Linked DNA regions of Homo sapiens: regions 2 and 3 are each linked to region 1. The links are contacts of gene promoters, found by promoter capture Hi-C in blood cells and fetal thymus (Javierre and others, 2016). All regions are on one chromosome and are shown on one strand. The core of a region is centred on a gene start or on the middle of the fragment in contact, and the rest is flanking DNA. Distances in the headings are between cores, read along the strand shown.

Region 1 (5,167 bases), core at 1,153-3,652:
TCCATCCGCCTCGGCCTCCCAAAGTGCTGGGATTATAGGCATGAGCCACCACACCTGGCCGTGATCGTTTTTAAGCTAGGCATATTCATTATACTTTTGTGTACATTTGAAACTTTCCATAACAAGCTAAAAAAAGTTAAAAAATCAAAATGGTGCTGTATCAGAAATAACACAATAGAGCTCTTTCCCTTTTTAAATAACACAATAGAGCTATTTCTCTCTTCCCCTTTTTAAATCCATGAGTCTCAAATCCATTCTTCGTAAATTTAACCACTATTGGGGAAGCATCTATCCCGATTAATGGCACATTTTCTTTGCTCTCAATCTACCAAAAATTGCCTTGCCCCTCTATCATTTGAGAAGGCAAGAAATTTCAAAAAGAAAACAAAAATGTCTATGTCCTGTAATAACAAAGGTATTTCAGGAAACAAAGAGGAAATACTCACCTTGGACATTGCTACTGAAACAGCCATTCTTTCTCCTCTGGGCTCTACTCTCAGAAAAAGAAAAATGGAATGAGATATTAGGCCTTTCTTGGGGAATATGCTAAATTATAACATACCCTCTTCCTCCATCCTCTTAATCTCATTTAACATAAAGAAAAGTCAGGAGGAGACTAGAATAAGTCTTCTACCTTCTGTATCAGAAAGAAGGGCCAGGTCACAGCTGTCTTGGGCTTGAATTTATTTCTGTATTCAAAGCTGTACACTGGAGACAGTCCTGCAGTGGGGTGCTTCAGGTTCAGAACTGGGTGGCTGTCTCCTAAAGCACTCCCTCTGAAACTATTCCCACTCCTGGAGTCCCATTATATTTCCAGTGGCCTATTTATTTATTTATTTAGAGAATGAGTTTCACTCTTGTTGCCCAGGCTGGAGTGCAGTGGCTTGATCTTGGCTCACTGCAACCTCCGCCTCCCGGGTTCAAGCAATTCTCCTGCCTCAGCCTCCTAAGTAGCTGGGATTACAGGCATGCGCCACCACGCCCAGCTAATTTTGTATTTTTAGTAGAGGTCATGGTGAAACCATGACCTCAGGTAATCCACCCGCCTCTGCCTCCCAAAGCGCTGGGATTACAGATGTGAGCCACCGCGCACAGCATCCAGTGGCTGTCTTGAAGGTATTATCAGCCCTAAAATTCTCATCCTAAGACCAGGTCTGTAACTTGCAAATAACTCCTATTCATCACTCAGGTGTCCAAATGTCTGACTTCCTTACTTCTTGCCACTTCCCTGCACCCAATCCCCTTAAGGCTATAAGGCAAGAGGACGCAGGGAAGAAGTCGTGAACTCGTAAGTAACTACATTTCCCAAGGTGAACCGAGGATGGATACAGAAATGAAGCAATACAGGCCATGGATGAAAGGGCAGCCACTGTGGTCAAATCAAAAAGTCCTTAAGTCCTCAGAGCCACATGGGAGGAGCACAGAGCCACATGGGACTCACAATCCATAGGCAGACCTCAGCCCCAAATGAACCCCAGAAATACCAAAAAGAAATTTACTTCTGTACTGGACTAAACCCCCATAAGGTCACAGAATATACAAATGGCCACATAAAGTCACACATAATCACATTTCCACAGTTACACAGCTAGAGGCACAATCACCCAATTATGCTACATTGTTAGACCACCTTGTCTCAAACAAAATCCCATTAAGTACAAGGCATATAATTACATCCAAGCACCTTGTCAGAGACACATACCGCCAAAAACACCCTTTCAAAGCTGCAATTTTAGTCTCTTTACACAGTCATGAAAACAGCACACACAACCCCACAGTCACACACAATCAGACAGTCACCCAACCCAGTACGAAATCAGGGAAACACGCGGTAATAAACACCGTGTCACAGCAACACTGTCACACACCTTAAATTTACTGGCAAATCCATCCCACGATATCAGGTTTACACACAACCTCAAAGTGACACAAGAACATCCAAACACTCTTGTCACAACTGTCACACACTTCATAGTCACAGGCAAACCCCAATTATACACGCGGCACACATAAAATCACAGTCACATAAGTATATCCCAGCCAGGTAAGCAAACAGTCACAAACACCCTCAGAGTCACAACTCACACTCATACAAATGCTCATACACAAAACCACAGCCACACACGTCCAGTCGTGTATGCACAGGCAGTCGCCAATACCAGGCAGGCTGTAGCCTGCACACAAAACCGGAGACACGGCCACACGAGTAACCCCAGCGACGCTTTCTCCGCGCGTGTCCGCTCCGGCATCCCGGACACTCCTACCTTGACAGAGGTGCAGTTCAGGGTCCAAGATCTGGCTCCCGGGTTCCAAGCCCAATTTCGGGTTCGCCAGCCCAGCAGGTGCGGAGCCAAGCTCCTCCACAGACGCGGCCCTCTCCCCACGCGAGGCCTCCAAATCTCGCAAACTAACGGAAATGAAGCTACGCTCCGGGAGCGGTGCCTCTGGGAAATGTAGTCCAGCGCTCCGGACGCCGTGCCTCTGGGAAATGTAGTCCAGCGCTTGGCTAGCCGGCCAGAACGCCAGGAGGCCCGGGCCGCTCACCCCTCGAGGGGCTCGTGGGCTCGGCCTGTGGAACCTGCTTGTCCCGCCTGCAGCGCCCCGGAGGTTTCTGGGAGTGCCCGCCCGCCCGCGCTCAGTGCGCAGGCGTCAGACGCTCAGGGCCTGCGAGAGCGAGCTGAGTGGTCCCAGGGTCTACCCCTGGCAGGAGAGAGGGTGGGACCCGCCGGCCAGGCAGGTGCGGGGGAGGAGCTGGGGCCGGTGCGGGGACCCGCCGGAACCTCGGATTTGCAGAGGACCCTGTGTGTGCCCTCCCAGGCCCTTGGGGTGTGTGTGACAATGGGAGATGCCAGGTGGACTGAGAGTCTTTCCGTGGCCGGGTGTGTATGGTTGTGTTTCTGCCTGTGTGTGATTCTTCCTGCTGTGGGGTGTGAGGTGATTTGTACTTTAAGCTGCGTAGTAATGGGATTTTATAACTGTGTAGAATCGTCTAACAGAGTAAGACGATTTTACACAGATCTCTATTGTGGTTTGCTTATGAAGGGTATCTGTATGTATATCTGCTTTTTTGTGTGTGGCCGTAATTGAGTAACTGGTGATCTGTGTTATATAAACGTGCTTTCTTTGTGCTTGTATTTCAGTGTCTGTAAGGGTGCCAAGAGCAAATGAGCTGTGTGTGATCGTGTGTGACAGTGAAAATACTATGGCCAAGTTATTTCTTCCTTAAATAGTAATGTAATAATCTGGAAAAGATAATCAATTTATCTGACAAGTAATTTAGACATCATTTTTCTATTGGATCAAATATATGTGTTATCGGGAAGAATCCAAAATTAACGTAGTTTTTTCTTTGTTTTTAGAAAGATTATTTCAAAACCAGTCCTAGGGTAACTGCCTTTTCCTCTGCCACAGCAGGCCAAAAGTAGATATCCATTATTTTCTAATTAGAGGGTAAAGTTTCTCTTATTACTGGGTACGGTTGAGAGGCCATCAACTAATAAAATAATAAAACAACGTTATACATAAGAAGAGTGAATTTTAGCACAGTACAGCACTAGTCAGATTTCCCAAATTCTAGGTCAAACACTTGTCCTCATTTTCTGATGAGAAAACCTTGGCCGGCAGAAAGTAACTTAAGGCTGTAGAGTTTGTTGGTAAACCTGAACTTATTTTTACTTACTTCAAGACCTCTTGGCCTTTTATGATTTTTGAATAATCAAAAACTTGTGAACTTCCAGCACAGAGAAGATAGAGTATAATTTCACCACTCCTTCAGAGGGAAAAAAATTAATAAAACTTGGTCTTGCAAGACCATATATCAAATACATTGATCTCTTACCGGTAATGTGACTGGAATAGCAAATTTGGTGATCAGAATTCTTGAGGGAATGAACCTGTGTGTGTGATCAGGCATAGCTATGTGAAATATAGATAATTAAATTGCACTGAGTTAGAGTGGGTCAAAGTCAGGCAAGAATTATGTCCAATTCACATGCACACGTATGTTTATTGCGGCACTATTCACGATAGCAAAGACTTGGAACCAACCCAAATGTCCATCAATGATAGACTGGATTAAGAAAATGTGGCACATATACATCATGGAATACTATGCAGCCATAAAAAAGGATGAGTTCATGTCCTTTATAGGGACATGGATAAAGCTGGAAACCATCATTCTTAGCAAACTATCGCAAGGACAGAAAACCAAACACCACATGTTCTCACTCATAGGTGGGAATTGAACAATGAGAACACTTGGACACAGGGTAAGGAACATCACACACTGGGGCCTGTCAGGGAGTGGGGGTAGGGGGAGGGGTAGCATTAGGAGATATATCTAATGTAAATGATGAGTTAACAGGTGCAGCACACCAACATGGCACATGTATACATATGTAACAAACCTGCACGTTGTGCACATGTACCCTAGAACTTAAAGTATAATAAATAAATAAAAATAAAAATAAAAAAGAATTATGTCCAATTATATATGGGAGATATATACTGGGTTTTGTTTTTTTTTTTAGGAGGTGACAGACACATTCTGGTTTCAAATTGAACAGCATGCATTGATCTTGAGCCGCATCTGTGTGATTCTGGGTCACTACTTTTGGCTTTTGAATAGTTACGATGAGTGCTTGCAAGAAAAAGGAAGCTATCACTTAAAAGTAAAAAACAGTTGTTCACCTGAGATGAATAGATTCCATGTGGATGGGCTTCTTGTATATTAAACTTATGACATTTTATATGTGTTGATATGTGATTTTTTTAAAAAAAGTATAGGCAGCTTTTCAGATTCACAAAGAGGTACTTTAAGCTAAAAAAGGTTAAGACCATCAGAAACGTAGACTGCAGGAACTGAGAAGGATTTGTTAGAATACTATGTGATATAATTAGTATAAAAATAGTATATATTTTATAGAGGGATACACACAAAACTCCTGCTAATGGTAACCTTTAGGGAGAGAAGAGAGGATTTAGGGTAAAGGGGGAGAAGTAAATGTCAAAGGGAACTTAAGCATTATAGGTCATTTCTCTCCCTCTCTCTCTGTTTTTGTTTGTTTGTTTGTTTTTGTTTTTGTTTTTGTTTTGAGACAGAGTCTCACTCTGTCGCCCGGGCTGGAGTGCAGTGGTGCGCTCTCAGCTCACTGCAACCTCCGCTTCC
Region 2 (5,167 bases), core at 1,593-4,092, 6.8 Mb before region 1:
CTTTGGGTTCCTTCCAAATGCTTGTAGCAACTTAGTAGGTGTTGGGGATGGAGCAGGTAACGAAACTCCACATTAGACAAGTGTAATGAATATAAGTAAGTAAATACCTAGAAGGATGTTAGAGAGGAATAAGGGCTTAGAGAAAAGAAGTAAGCAGAGATGAGGGATAGGAAGTGTTGGGGTGCAGTTAGGAGACCGAAATTATCTACAGGATGGCTAGAGAGAGACTCTGAGGTGGTGACATTTGAATAAAGAAGAAAGAGTTTCTTAGTGTGGCTCTCCTAATAGTCTCTCTGGCCCTAGCCTCCTCCCCCTCAAGCCTCCTCCCGTTTGAGAGGGTAATCTGTTTCTAACATGAAAGGAATCTTTTTACTCTCCTTTCCAGAAGTCCTTCAGTGTTCTCCTGCTGACTTGCAGATAATTTTGTGACTTGAACGTCATCATGGTTTGAATTCTGCCTTCCTGCCCATCTCTTTCTGCCTGTTATTTGTCTTCACATCATGACATTTGTTCTCTGGGAGTTTTATAGTGATTTGGATTCTCTGGCTAATAGAGCTCAGTCACCCTCCAGGGCTCAGATTAAGCTACGTTTGTGTAGAACCCCTGCATTCCACTGTGGGCTTATGAGCCCATTCCTCATGCCGCTAAAGGATGCTGTGCACTACTCTGGCATTTAGCCATGTATAGTGGAATTGCCAGCTTCCTCATCACTAGACTGTGAGCATCTTGAGGCTGGGGAATTGCATCTCTTTTAGTAAGGTTCCCACAAGTCTTCACTGAGTTAATAAACTCATCTATTTAATGAAGTAGTAATAAATTCACCTGTCTAGTGCTAATTATGCAGGCAGTAAAATAGTGTTCATTCTCAGTATTTTAAGGGACACATTCTGTGGGTTCTGTAACAGTGACTCATGTCGTCGCTGACTTTGAAGAGCAGAGAGTACTTTCCTAAGATGGTATTTAACAAAATCCAGAGATGCTTTTCCTTCCAAAGATGACTCTGATCTTGCCCAAGGACAGCAAATATGGTGAAAGACCTAGAGGAAAAATTTGGAAATAAAACCCTTGCTCTCCAAATCTTCCCAACTGGAGTCAGTCTCAGGGAGACTTAGACCAACTAGTCTAGTCTTCCTATATGCCTCTCCATGTCTGATGGTGGGTTCAGTCATTTCTGCTGGGCAATTACTTTGTACAGGAACTGTTTTAGGTACTTGGGATATAAAGCTGAATAAACATTCATCACAAGACAGATGGTTGATTTGCTATTATCTCTTTTTTTTCCCGAGGCGATGGAAATATATCCCCTGCAAAACATTCTTACTGAGCAGAGGTTGCTGGGCAAATATAGAGTTAGAACAAAGTGAATTACAAATTCTAAAAGAGTATTTCAGGCTGGGTGTGGTGGCTTACGCCTATAATCCCAGCACTTTGGGAGGCCAAGGCGGGTGGATCACTTGAGGTCAGGAGGTCGAGACCAGCCTGGCCAAAATAGTGAAACCTCATCTGTACTAAAAAAACAAAAGAAACAAAAAAAATTAGCCAGGAATGGTGGCGGGTGCCCATAATCCAGCTACTGGGGAGGCTGAGGCAGGATAATCTTTTGAACCCGGAAGGCTGAGGTTGCAGTAAGCTGAGATCATTCCACTGCACTCCAGCCTGGGCCACAGCGCAAGACTCCATTTCAGAAAAATAAATAAATAAGTATTTCTTCTAAGATTGGAAGGTTTTATGTTTCCCTTTTCAATAGTAAGGGTTCTTCTATCTGAAGTAAGAGAACTAAGAATAATTTACTAATAAATCAAGCAGTAATTAACTAATACTAAGCTTTTAATCTGGGTATTTTACTCGTTTCCACCCTCCATAGAATCAGAATCATACCCTGAGAGCTACAAGAACTCCATTTTTCACTGTGCAGAGGCTCTCTGCTGAAGGGTCAAGTGGAATCTGGAATCCAGCCCATGTTTCCCCATCATCAAGCCATGTGAAGCTGCAGACTCCGTGAGTGCCTTAGTCCATTTGTGCTGCTATAACAAACAATACCATAGGCTGGGTGGCTTAAACAACAAACCTTTATAACTCACAGTCCTGGAGACTGGGAAGTCCATGATCAAGTCACTGGCAAATCCAATGTCTAATGAGGCCACTCTTACTGGTTCGCAGAAGCTGTTGTCTTGTATCTTCCTGGGAGGAAGAGAGAAAGAGCTAGGTTACTTGCTTTTCTTACAAGGAAAGCAATCCCATTATGGAGGCTTCACCCTCATGACCTAATTACCTCCTAAAGGCCCCACCTCCCAATAACATCACATTAGGGCTTCAACATAAGAATTTTGAGGGGACACAGACATTGGTCCACAGCAGCAAGGGAGGGGCTCCCTGACTGTTTCATGTAAAGCATCTGCATGGGTTTATGTGTAACTTCTATTGATTGTTTAAGCTGCCAGAAACTGTTCCACATGTTTTGTGTATACTTAGTCACTTTCACTGACCTTCCTATGAAGTAGGTATTATTATTACATCCAGTTTATAGATTAGACATTAGAGCACAAAGTACTAGCAAGTTGGACATGCCTGTATTCCAGTACTGGTGGGCTGGTTCTGGAGTCTAGACTGTTCACAACTCTGTTCTCTACTCCCTCAAGCAGCTCCCTTGGCTTCAGAGTCCAATCTCCATTTCTGTGTCTGTCTTTTACCCCTAACTCTGGAGCCCTCATTTCTCCTTCCATGAGATCTTAGACTCCCATCTGCTTATTTTTGTCTTTAGAAGCAACAGAGAGACAAGATTTAGAATACTGGCTCTGGTATGAAAGCTGGATTCAGGTACTGTTCCTGCCTCTTGACCTCACCAAGCCTCAGCTTCCTCGCCTGTTAAATGGATACAATTGTCGTCATTATCATCTGTTGAGAACTCCCTAAAATGCCAGGTACTATGCCAAGGGCATTGCATAAATTCACTCATTGATTCCTCACAGTAATCCTATGATTAACATCCTGTTTTCATTTCCCTTCTTATAGCTGAGCATAGGCACAGAAGTTTAGGTGTTTGGACCAAGGTCACACAACTGATACAACAGTAGCTTCTTCACAGGTATGTGTGAAGTACCTTAATGAAACATCATGTGCCAAGTTCTTCATAAGGTCCCTAATATGTATTTAGTTAAATATCACCATTTTTGTTGTTATTATTGTGCTTCCTATAGCTTGTTAATTTCAGTGACATTATCTAATTTATAGTTGCATAAATCTTGCAGAGTCATGATTTTTTATTAAATTTTCTCTGTCTCTATGATAGTCTTTTTAAGGCCCTACTGTTAAAGTAAATTTTGCAAGGTCTTTTTTTTTTTTTTTAGATTTTTTTTTTTTCTCTTTAGAGATCACTCTGTTGGCCAGGTTGGTCTTGAACTCTTGGCCTCAAGCAGTCCTCCCACTTTGGCCTCCCAGAGTGCTAGGATTACAGGCATGAGCCACTCTACACAGCCAAATTTTGCAAGGTCTTATACCTTTTAGAAACCAGTCCATATAGTCAAATTCATAGAGATAACGTGGTTATCAGGGGCTGGGAGGGGGAATGGGGAATTATTACTTAATGGGTACATAAAAAATTCTGATGATGGATAGTGGTGATGGCTGCACAACAATGTAAATGTACTTACTGAATGTAACCACTTAAAAAATGGTTAAAATGGTAAATTTTATGTTACATATTTTACTATCAAAAAAAGCAGTCATCTATGTACAGTAGTCCCCCCTTATCCACAGCAGATACCTTCCAAGTCCCCCAGTGAATGACTTAAACCTCAGATATTACTGAACCCTAAATATACTATGTTTTTCCTTTACCTACATACTTATGATAAAGCTTAATTTATAAATTAGGCACAGTAAGAGACTAACAACAATAACTTATAATAAAATAGAATAATGATAAAATACTGTAACAAAAGTTCTATAAACATGGTCTCTCTCTCTCTCTCAGAATATCTTACTGCACTGTACTCACCTATTTTTGGGCCATAGTTGACTTCAGGTAACTGAAACCACAGAAAGCAAAACTATGGATAGGAAGGACCACTGTAATCTTAAATACTATTGCAAAAGCCTCAAATTAAGTATGGGAAACCAAGAGAGAATAACAGGTATTTCAGAGGTTAAAGGCGAGGTTAAAGTAGAGGTTAAAAAACCTCTACTAAAGAATTCATCAGCTGAGTGTGGTGGCTCACACCTGTAATCCCAGCACTTTGGGAGGCTGAGGCAGGAGGATCACTTGAGCTCAGGAGTTTGAGACTGGCTCGGGCAACATAGCATGACCTCGTCTCTACAAAAAGTAAAAAAATTAGCTGGACATTGTGGTGCACACCTGTGGTCCCAGCTACTTGGGAGGCTGAGGTGGGAGGATCGCTTGAGCCCAGGAGGTCAAGGCTTTAGTGAGTCATGATTGTGCCACTGCACTCCAGCCTGGGCAGCAGAGCAAGACCCTCTCTCAAAAAAAAAAAAAAAAAAAAAAACAAAGAATTTATTGGTAGAAACCATTAATGAGCACAGGTTTTATGTTATGTGCTTTTCTGCAGCTAAGAAATAAGGTACTCTGAAAATATTCTTTGAGCTTTTTCCCTCATTTAATTTGTAAACAATCCTATGAGATTGTTAATTCTCTCATTGTTAATCTCTTCATTTTATGGATGAAAGAACTGAGGCACAGAGATATTAATAATTTGTCCTGGATTTCATAGCGAATAAATAGCAATGCCATAAATCTAGGCATTTGGCTCCAGAGGGGCCAAATACTCTTAATCTGGGTATTTTACTCTCAATTTCTACTCTCCCTAGAATCAGTCATACCCTGAGAGCCACAAGGAGAAATTATGTTGGGGGCATACTCTGTGTGGTCGGGCAGGTCACTTGCTGCCAGGGTCTTACAGCCAAAGGGACAAGTAGTATCTGGAATCCAGCCTAGTTTCTGTTCATCAAGCCAGCCCGAGGAAGGAACACTGTTGCTATTTCACGTTAAAAAAAACAAAACAAAACAAAAAAACAGCTATGGTTTTTTTTTTGGCCAAACTCTCATGGCTTTTTTCTCCTTCCCTCATGTTTTCTCCTTCCCTCTTAAGACTTGGCACTTCTCCAGAAGGAGGAGGACAAAATGACGAAGTCTAAGGTGAGTTGGACCTCC
Region 3 (5,167 bases), core at 922-3,421, 6.8 Mb before region 1:
CTTTAGGTTTTATTCACAGCTTATTCAGCATCAGATAATTCATACTGGTATGAAACCCTATGAATGTAAGCAATGCGGGAAGGCTTTTAGACGTCATTCTCACCTTACAGAACATCAGAAAATTCATGTTGGCTTGAAACCCTTTGAATGTAAGGAATGTGGGGAAACGTTTAGATTATATCGACATATGTGTCTGCATCAGAAAATTCATCATGGTGTGAAACCCTACAAATGTAAAGAATGTGGAAAGGCTTTTGGTCATCGTTCAAGTCTTTACCAACATAAGAAAATTCATTCTGGTGAGAAACCATATAAATGTGAACAATGTGAAAAGGCCTTTGTTCGCAGCTATCTACTTGTTGAACATCAAAGAAGTCATACTGGTGAGAAACCTCATGAATGCATGGAATGTGGAAAGGCTTTTGGTAAGGGCTCAAGCCTTCTTAAACATAAGAGAATTCATAGTAGTGAGAAACTCTATGATTGTAAGGATTGTGGAAAGGCCTTTTGTAGAGGCTCTCAACTTACACAGCATCAGAGAATTCATACTGGTGAGAAGCCACATGAATGTAAAGAATGTGGGAAGACTTTTAAGCTTCATTCATATCTTATTCAACATCAGATAATTCATACTGATTTGAAGCCATATGAATGTAAGCAATGTGGGAAAGCCTTCAGTCGTGTTGGAGACCTTAAGACACATCAATCAATTCATGCTGGGGAGAAACCCTATGAATGTAAGGAATGTGGAAAAACCTTTAGACTTAATTCTCAACTAATTTATCATCAGACAATTCATACTGGTTTGAAACCCTATGTATGTAAAGAATGTAAGAAGGCCTTTCGTTCTATCTCAGGTCTTTCTCAACATAAGAGAATTCATACTGGTGAAAAACCCTATGAATGTAAAGAATGTGATAAGGCCTTTAATCGCAGTGATCGACTTACTCAACATGAGACAATTCATACTGGTGTGAAACCACAGAAATGCAAAGAATGTGGTAAGGCCTTTAGTCATTGCTATCAACTTAGTCAACATCAAAGATTTCACCATGGTGAGAGACTCTTAATGTAATGAGAGGGAAAGCCTTTAGCCATGGCACATTTTTACTGTTGTCACTATTATGATGCTATAGTGAAGATTAAACTAGTTAATATAGAATATAAATACTTGGAAAGGCATCTGGCACATCGTATTTGCTTACTAAATACATTATTTTTATGATAATTGTTAGAATTACTAAAAATAAATCTTATAGAAGGAAGACCCTATGAGTGTGATATTTTGAAAATGCTCTATCATCACTTCATATAATTTATTCTGGACAAAATCCTGTAGAATATATTAAATGAGAAATTTTTAAATTCAGAATTCATACCCCTGAAGATTAATGCTGGAATAAATAATGTGTATTTATTGAATAATGAAAGGATAGCTGTTGAAAATTAGAGAGTGGTTTAAAGAAATTTTTTCACAAATCCTATAATACAGATAACACATATTTTGCATCCTCTACAATTAAAATAAATTAGAAATGAACAGTTAGGTAGCCAAAAGACAGATATTAACTTGGAAAAGTTTTCCCTAAGTTTATGAAAATGTTAAGATTTACATCCTTACAGAAAAGGTAGCTGTTTACAGTGGTGCAGTGAAGGCTTGTTTGCCCTTCACCTAGTTTCAGTACATCTGATGTCTCTCTTTTTTATGTGTATACTAACACATATATACACACAAATACATATATACCATGCATGTCTTATGTCTATGTATATACACAGATGCATATATATATATATCATACTTATTACACATGAATATATGTATATATTACATATATCACTTTTCCTGTTTTTTGAGTGAATGTTTTAGGTATCATTCACCTCTAAAAAAAAGGCAACATACAACTGCTAGGATCAAAGATAATCTTCTAGATGTCTACTACACCATTGTCACAAAAAAATTAACAGTAACCCTATAATGTCTTAAAATATTCACTCCATTTGCAAATTTCTCCAATTTTTAAAATAATGTCTTTTAGCACTGTCTTTTTCACAAGCCAAGAACCAAACTAATCTCATATATTTTATATGATTATGGCTTATTAAGTCTCTTTTAGTCAAGAGCCTACCCTTCATCATTTTGTGACATAGACTTTTTGAAGACTTTAGATTTGACCTAAATAGTGTTGCACATGCTGTGTTTGTCTTATTGTTTCTGGAGGTGTGATTAACTTGTTTCTTTGTCCTCTATATTTACTGTGACCTGGAGGTTATGATTAGAGGCTTGATTGGGTTTCAGATTAAACATTTTCAAAAGACTACTTCATAGATAGTATCATGTACTTAATATTGTAAAGTATCAGGTGGCCTACAAGTGAAACTATGTTTTATCCCTTGATTCATGTATTGACCACCAGCTCCTTCCATTGTTATGGGTGAATTTTTTCTTTGCAATTAAATAAGTAATCCATGGAAAGTCATGTTGGAAATTTGAACAGTCTTCTGTATTCTATTTTTAGAGATGGGGTATTGCTATGTTGCCCAGGCTGGAATTCAGTGGCTATTCACAGATGTTATATAGCACACTACAGCCTTGAACTCCTGAGCTCAGGCAATCCTCCTGCCTCAACCTCTGGAGTAGCTGGGACTATAGGCACACAGTGCTACACCCAGTTGCTTAAAGAAATTAAGATGAAAATCCTCATCTTTTATATTTACCCATATATTTACTATTTCCCATGCTGTTTATTTCTTTCCAGAGATCTGAATTTTTCTCTGGTATCATTTCCCTACAGTTTGAGGAACTTAACTTAGCATTTCTTGGAGTGAACGTCTGCTGGTGATGAATTTTCATAGTTTCTTTTACTGAAATGCCTTTATTTTTTAAGGATTTCTTCTGGCTATAGAATTCTGGGTTGGCAGTTTTTTGGAGATATATGAATATATGTGTGTGTATATGCACACACACAAAGAATACACACACATATATATACTCATAAAGAGATATATATTGTTTCATATATGTATATATAAATCACCGACTTCTGGTCTTCAAGTCTCCATAGTTTACAAGAAGAAGTCATTTGAATTGTTTTTTCTCTTATGTAATGTGTCCTTTTTCTCTGGGTGCTTTCCAGATTTTCTTATTACTTTTGGTTTTCAGCTGTTTGAGTATGAGGTGCCTAGGTATGGTTTTCTTTGTGTTAATTCTGCTTGGGGTACTCTGAGCCTCTGAAATTTGCACACATGTGCCTTTCACCAAATTCCAGAAATTCTTGGCCATTATATCTTCAAATATTTTTTCTGCATTTACTCTACTCATACGTTAAATCTTTTGGTACTGTCCCACAGGTCACTGTCTTTGTTATTTATCTTCAGTATTTTTTTTCTGTTCTTCAGCTTGGACAACTTCTGTTACTCTGTTTTCAAATTCACTTATTCTTTTTCTCTGTCATTTCAGTTCTGCTGCTAAGCCTATCTATCAAATTGTTTAATTTCAGATATTACATTTTTCAGTTCTAGAATTTTCCTTTAGTACTTTTATAGTTCCTATTTCTTTACTAAGATTGCCTATTTCTTCATTGCATGCATCTTTTCACAAGGCTTTTCAGTCCTGTTAAAATCCTCTATATATTGATTCATGCTAGAAAAATATATAAAATCATTATTATGAACTTATACAGTGAAAAGTTTTCATTTCAATGAATGTTCCTATTATTTTCACTAGGTCACGAAAAAAAAGCTTTCCTTTCCTTGGAGTTTCAGATTTTGCTTATTCATATGCAATGTGATACTGGTGAGAAAAAAAATCACTGTCTTCTTTTTCCTTTATTATTAAATATTTGGAAAACTTTCTTTAAAGAAAATCTTGAACTGGAGTTCAAAGTACGAGAAATCTTTGTAAATGTCTTACACCATTAAACAGATGAGCATTGGGAAAGAACATAAGATTAATTGTTCTCTATTTCTTTTTTGTTTTGTTTTGTTATGTTTTTTTGAGACGGAGTCTCACTCTATCACCTAGGCTGGAGTGCAGTGGCGCGATCTCGGCTCACTGCAAGCTCCGCCTCCCAGGTTCATGCCATTCTCCTCAGCCTCCCGAGTAGCTGGGACTACAGGTGCCCACCACCACACCTGGCTAATTTTTTGTAGTTTTAGTAGAGACGGGGTTTCACCGTGTTAGCCAGGATGGGCTTGATCTGCTGACCTCATGATCGCCCCCCTCAGCCTCCCAAAATGCTGGGATTACAGGCGTCAGCCACCAAGCCTGACCTCTATTTCTTTTAACAGTTCCATGAAGTAGTCGTGATTCATAATATTTACATGTATATACTTCATAGGTATATTCTTTATACAGTAGAGCAAAGCAGTTAGGGAGACATCAGTCTCTTGCATTAAAATTCCAAGGAATTCAGATTTTTAACCTAATACAGCTGGTGTATCATCTATTGTGATAGAAATATTTTTTGATACCTAACAGAAATTTTTCTTTGACAGATATAAAAGACAAAAATATCTATGTCATGACTCTGGTTTTGTAGGCTGCGAATTGACAGCTTTTTTTATTTGGGGATCTTTTGAGACAAAATGTACCCACAGTATCAATTGGGCTAAATTATCTTATATTGCACAACTCATATATGGCTAAAGAAGAGTACTTGAAGCTTTTGCTAACTTTGAATTAATTGATCCATGATATTGTTAGAAATATCTTGTATTCTATGAGCAGTTTTTAGGTGACTTAATTTTTTTTTACTTTTTATAAGATCATTTTAGTCTTTCTCAGAATATGCTAACAAGATTTTTGCAACCAAACTAATAATTTATCTTATCTCTATATCCAACATTTCTTTTTTGTGCAAGAATCAGAGCCATTTTATAGCTCAAAAAGGTTATAAACTCAGATTCTGTTTAAAAATTGTTTAAATATTTTGGTTGGACATTTAATTCTAATTTCAGGCAACTAACTTCATCTATTCCATTTTGCTTCTCAAGAGAAAACGTCTCATCAAATTTACTATGTATTTGCTGAAAATGTTTCACAATATTTTTCTCTTTAACAATTTAATTTGTTATGTAATAAACAGCTTTTTTTTTTTGCTCTCTCACAGCAAATTGCAATTGACATTCATCATGAAATTCATAGTATATTATCTTCCAGGCTCAT

Evidence for each region. Contacts are between HindIII fragments. The CHiCAGO score rates a contact against its expected background, and 5 or more counts as called.
Region 2: a contact is called between a fragment that was not itself captured here and the fragment with the promoter of ZNF420 in region 1, in 1 of 17 cell types (total CD4 T cells). The highest score is 8.3, in total CD4 T cells.
Region 3: a contact is called between a fragment that was not itself captured here and the fragment with the promoter of ZNF420 in region 1, in 1 of 17 cell types (naive B cells). The highest score is 6.9, in naive B cells.

What each region holds. Positions count from the first base shown.
Region 1 is chr19:37,075,668-37,080,834 of GRCh38, reverse strand. It overlaps ZNF420 (zinc finger protein 420), which reads right to left and starts at 2,402. Exons shown (of 5, transcript NM_144689.5): 1 at 2,265-2,402; 2 at 447-490. It overlaps LOC105372390 (a long non-coding RNA gene), which reads left to right and starts at 2,638. Exons shown (of 2, transcript XR_001754095.2): 1 at 2,638-2,737; 2 at 4,530-5,167. RefSeq lists an enhancer at 2,327-2,566 and a silencer at 2,657-2,946. The HindIII fragment of the contact is 14,557 bases long and covers 1-5,167 here.
Region 2 is chr19:43,922,156-43,927,322 of GRCh38, reverse strand. ZNF45 (zinc finger protein 45) reads left to right here. Exons shown (of 10, transcript NM_003425.4): 4 at 1,865-1,998; 5 at 2,762-2,921; 6 at 3,013-3,085; 7 at 5,106-5,152. The coding sequence starts at 5,138. ZNF45-AS1 (ZNF45 antisense RNA 1) reads right to left here. Exons shown (of 3, transcript NR_184050.1): 2 at 2,069-2,181; 3 at 1-1,037. Among named protein-coding and RNA genes, the nearest start is that of ZNF45, 11 kb to the left of the region's middle. The HindIII fragment of the contact is 2,032 bases long and covers 1,827-3,858 here.
Region 3 is chr19:43,868,463-43,873,629 of GRCh38, reverse strand. ZNF404 (zinc finger protein 404) reads left to right here. Exons shown (of 3, transcript NM_001033719.3): 3 at 1-1,265. The coding sequence ends at 1,075. Among named protein-coding and RNA genes, the nearest start is that of ZNF404, 13 kb to the left of the region's middle. The HindIII fragment of the contact is 3,147 bases long and covers 598-3,744 here.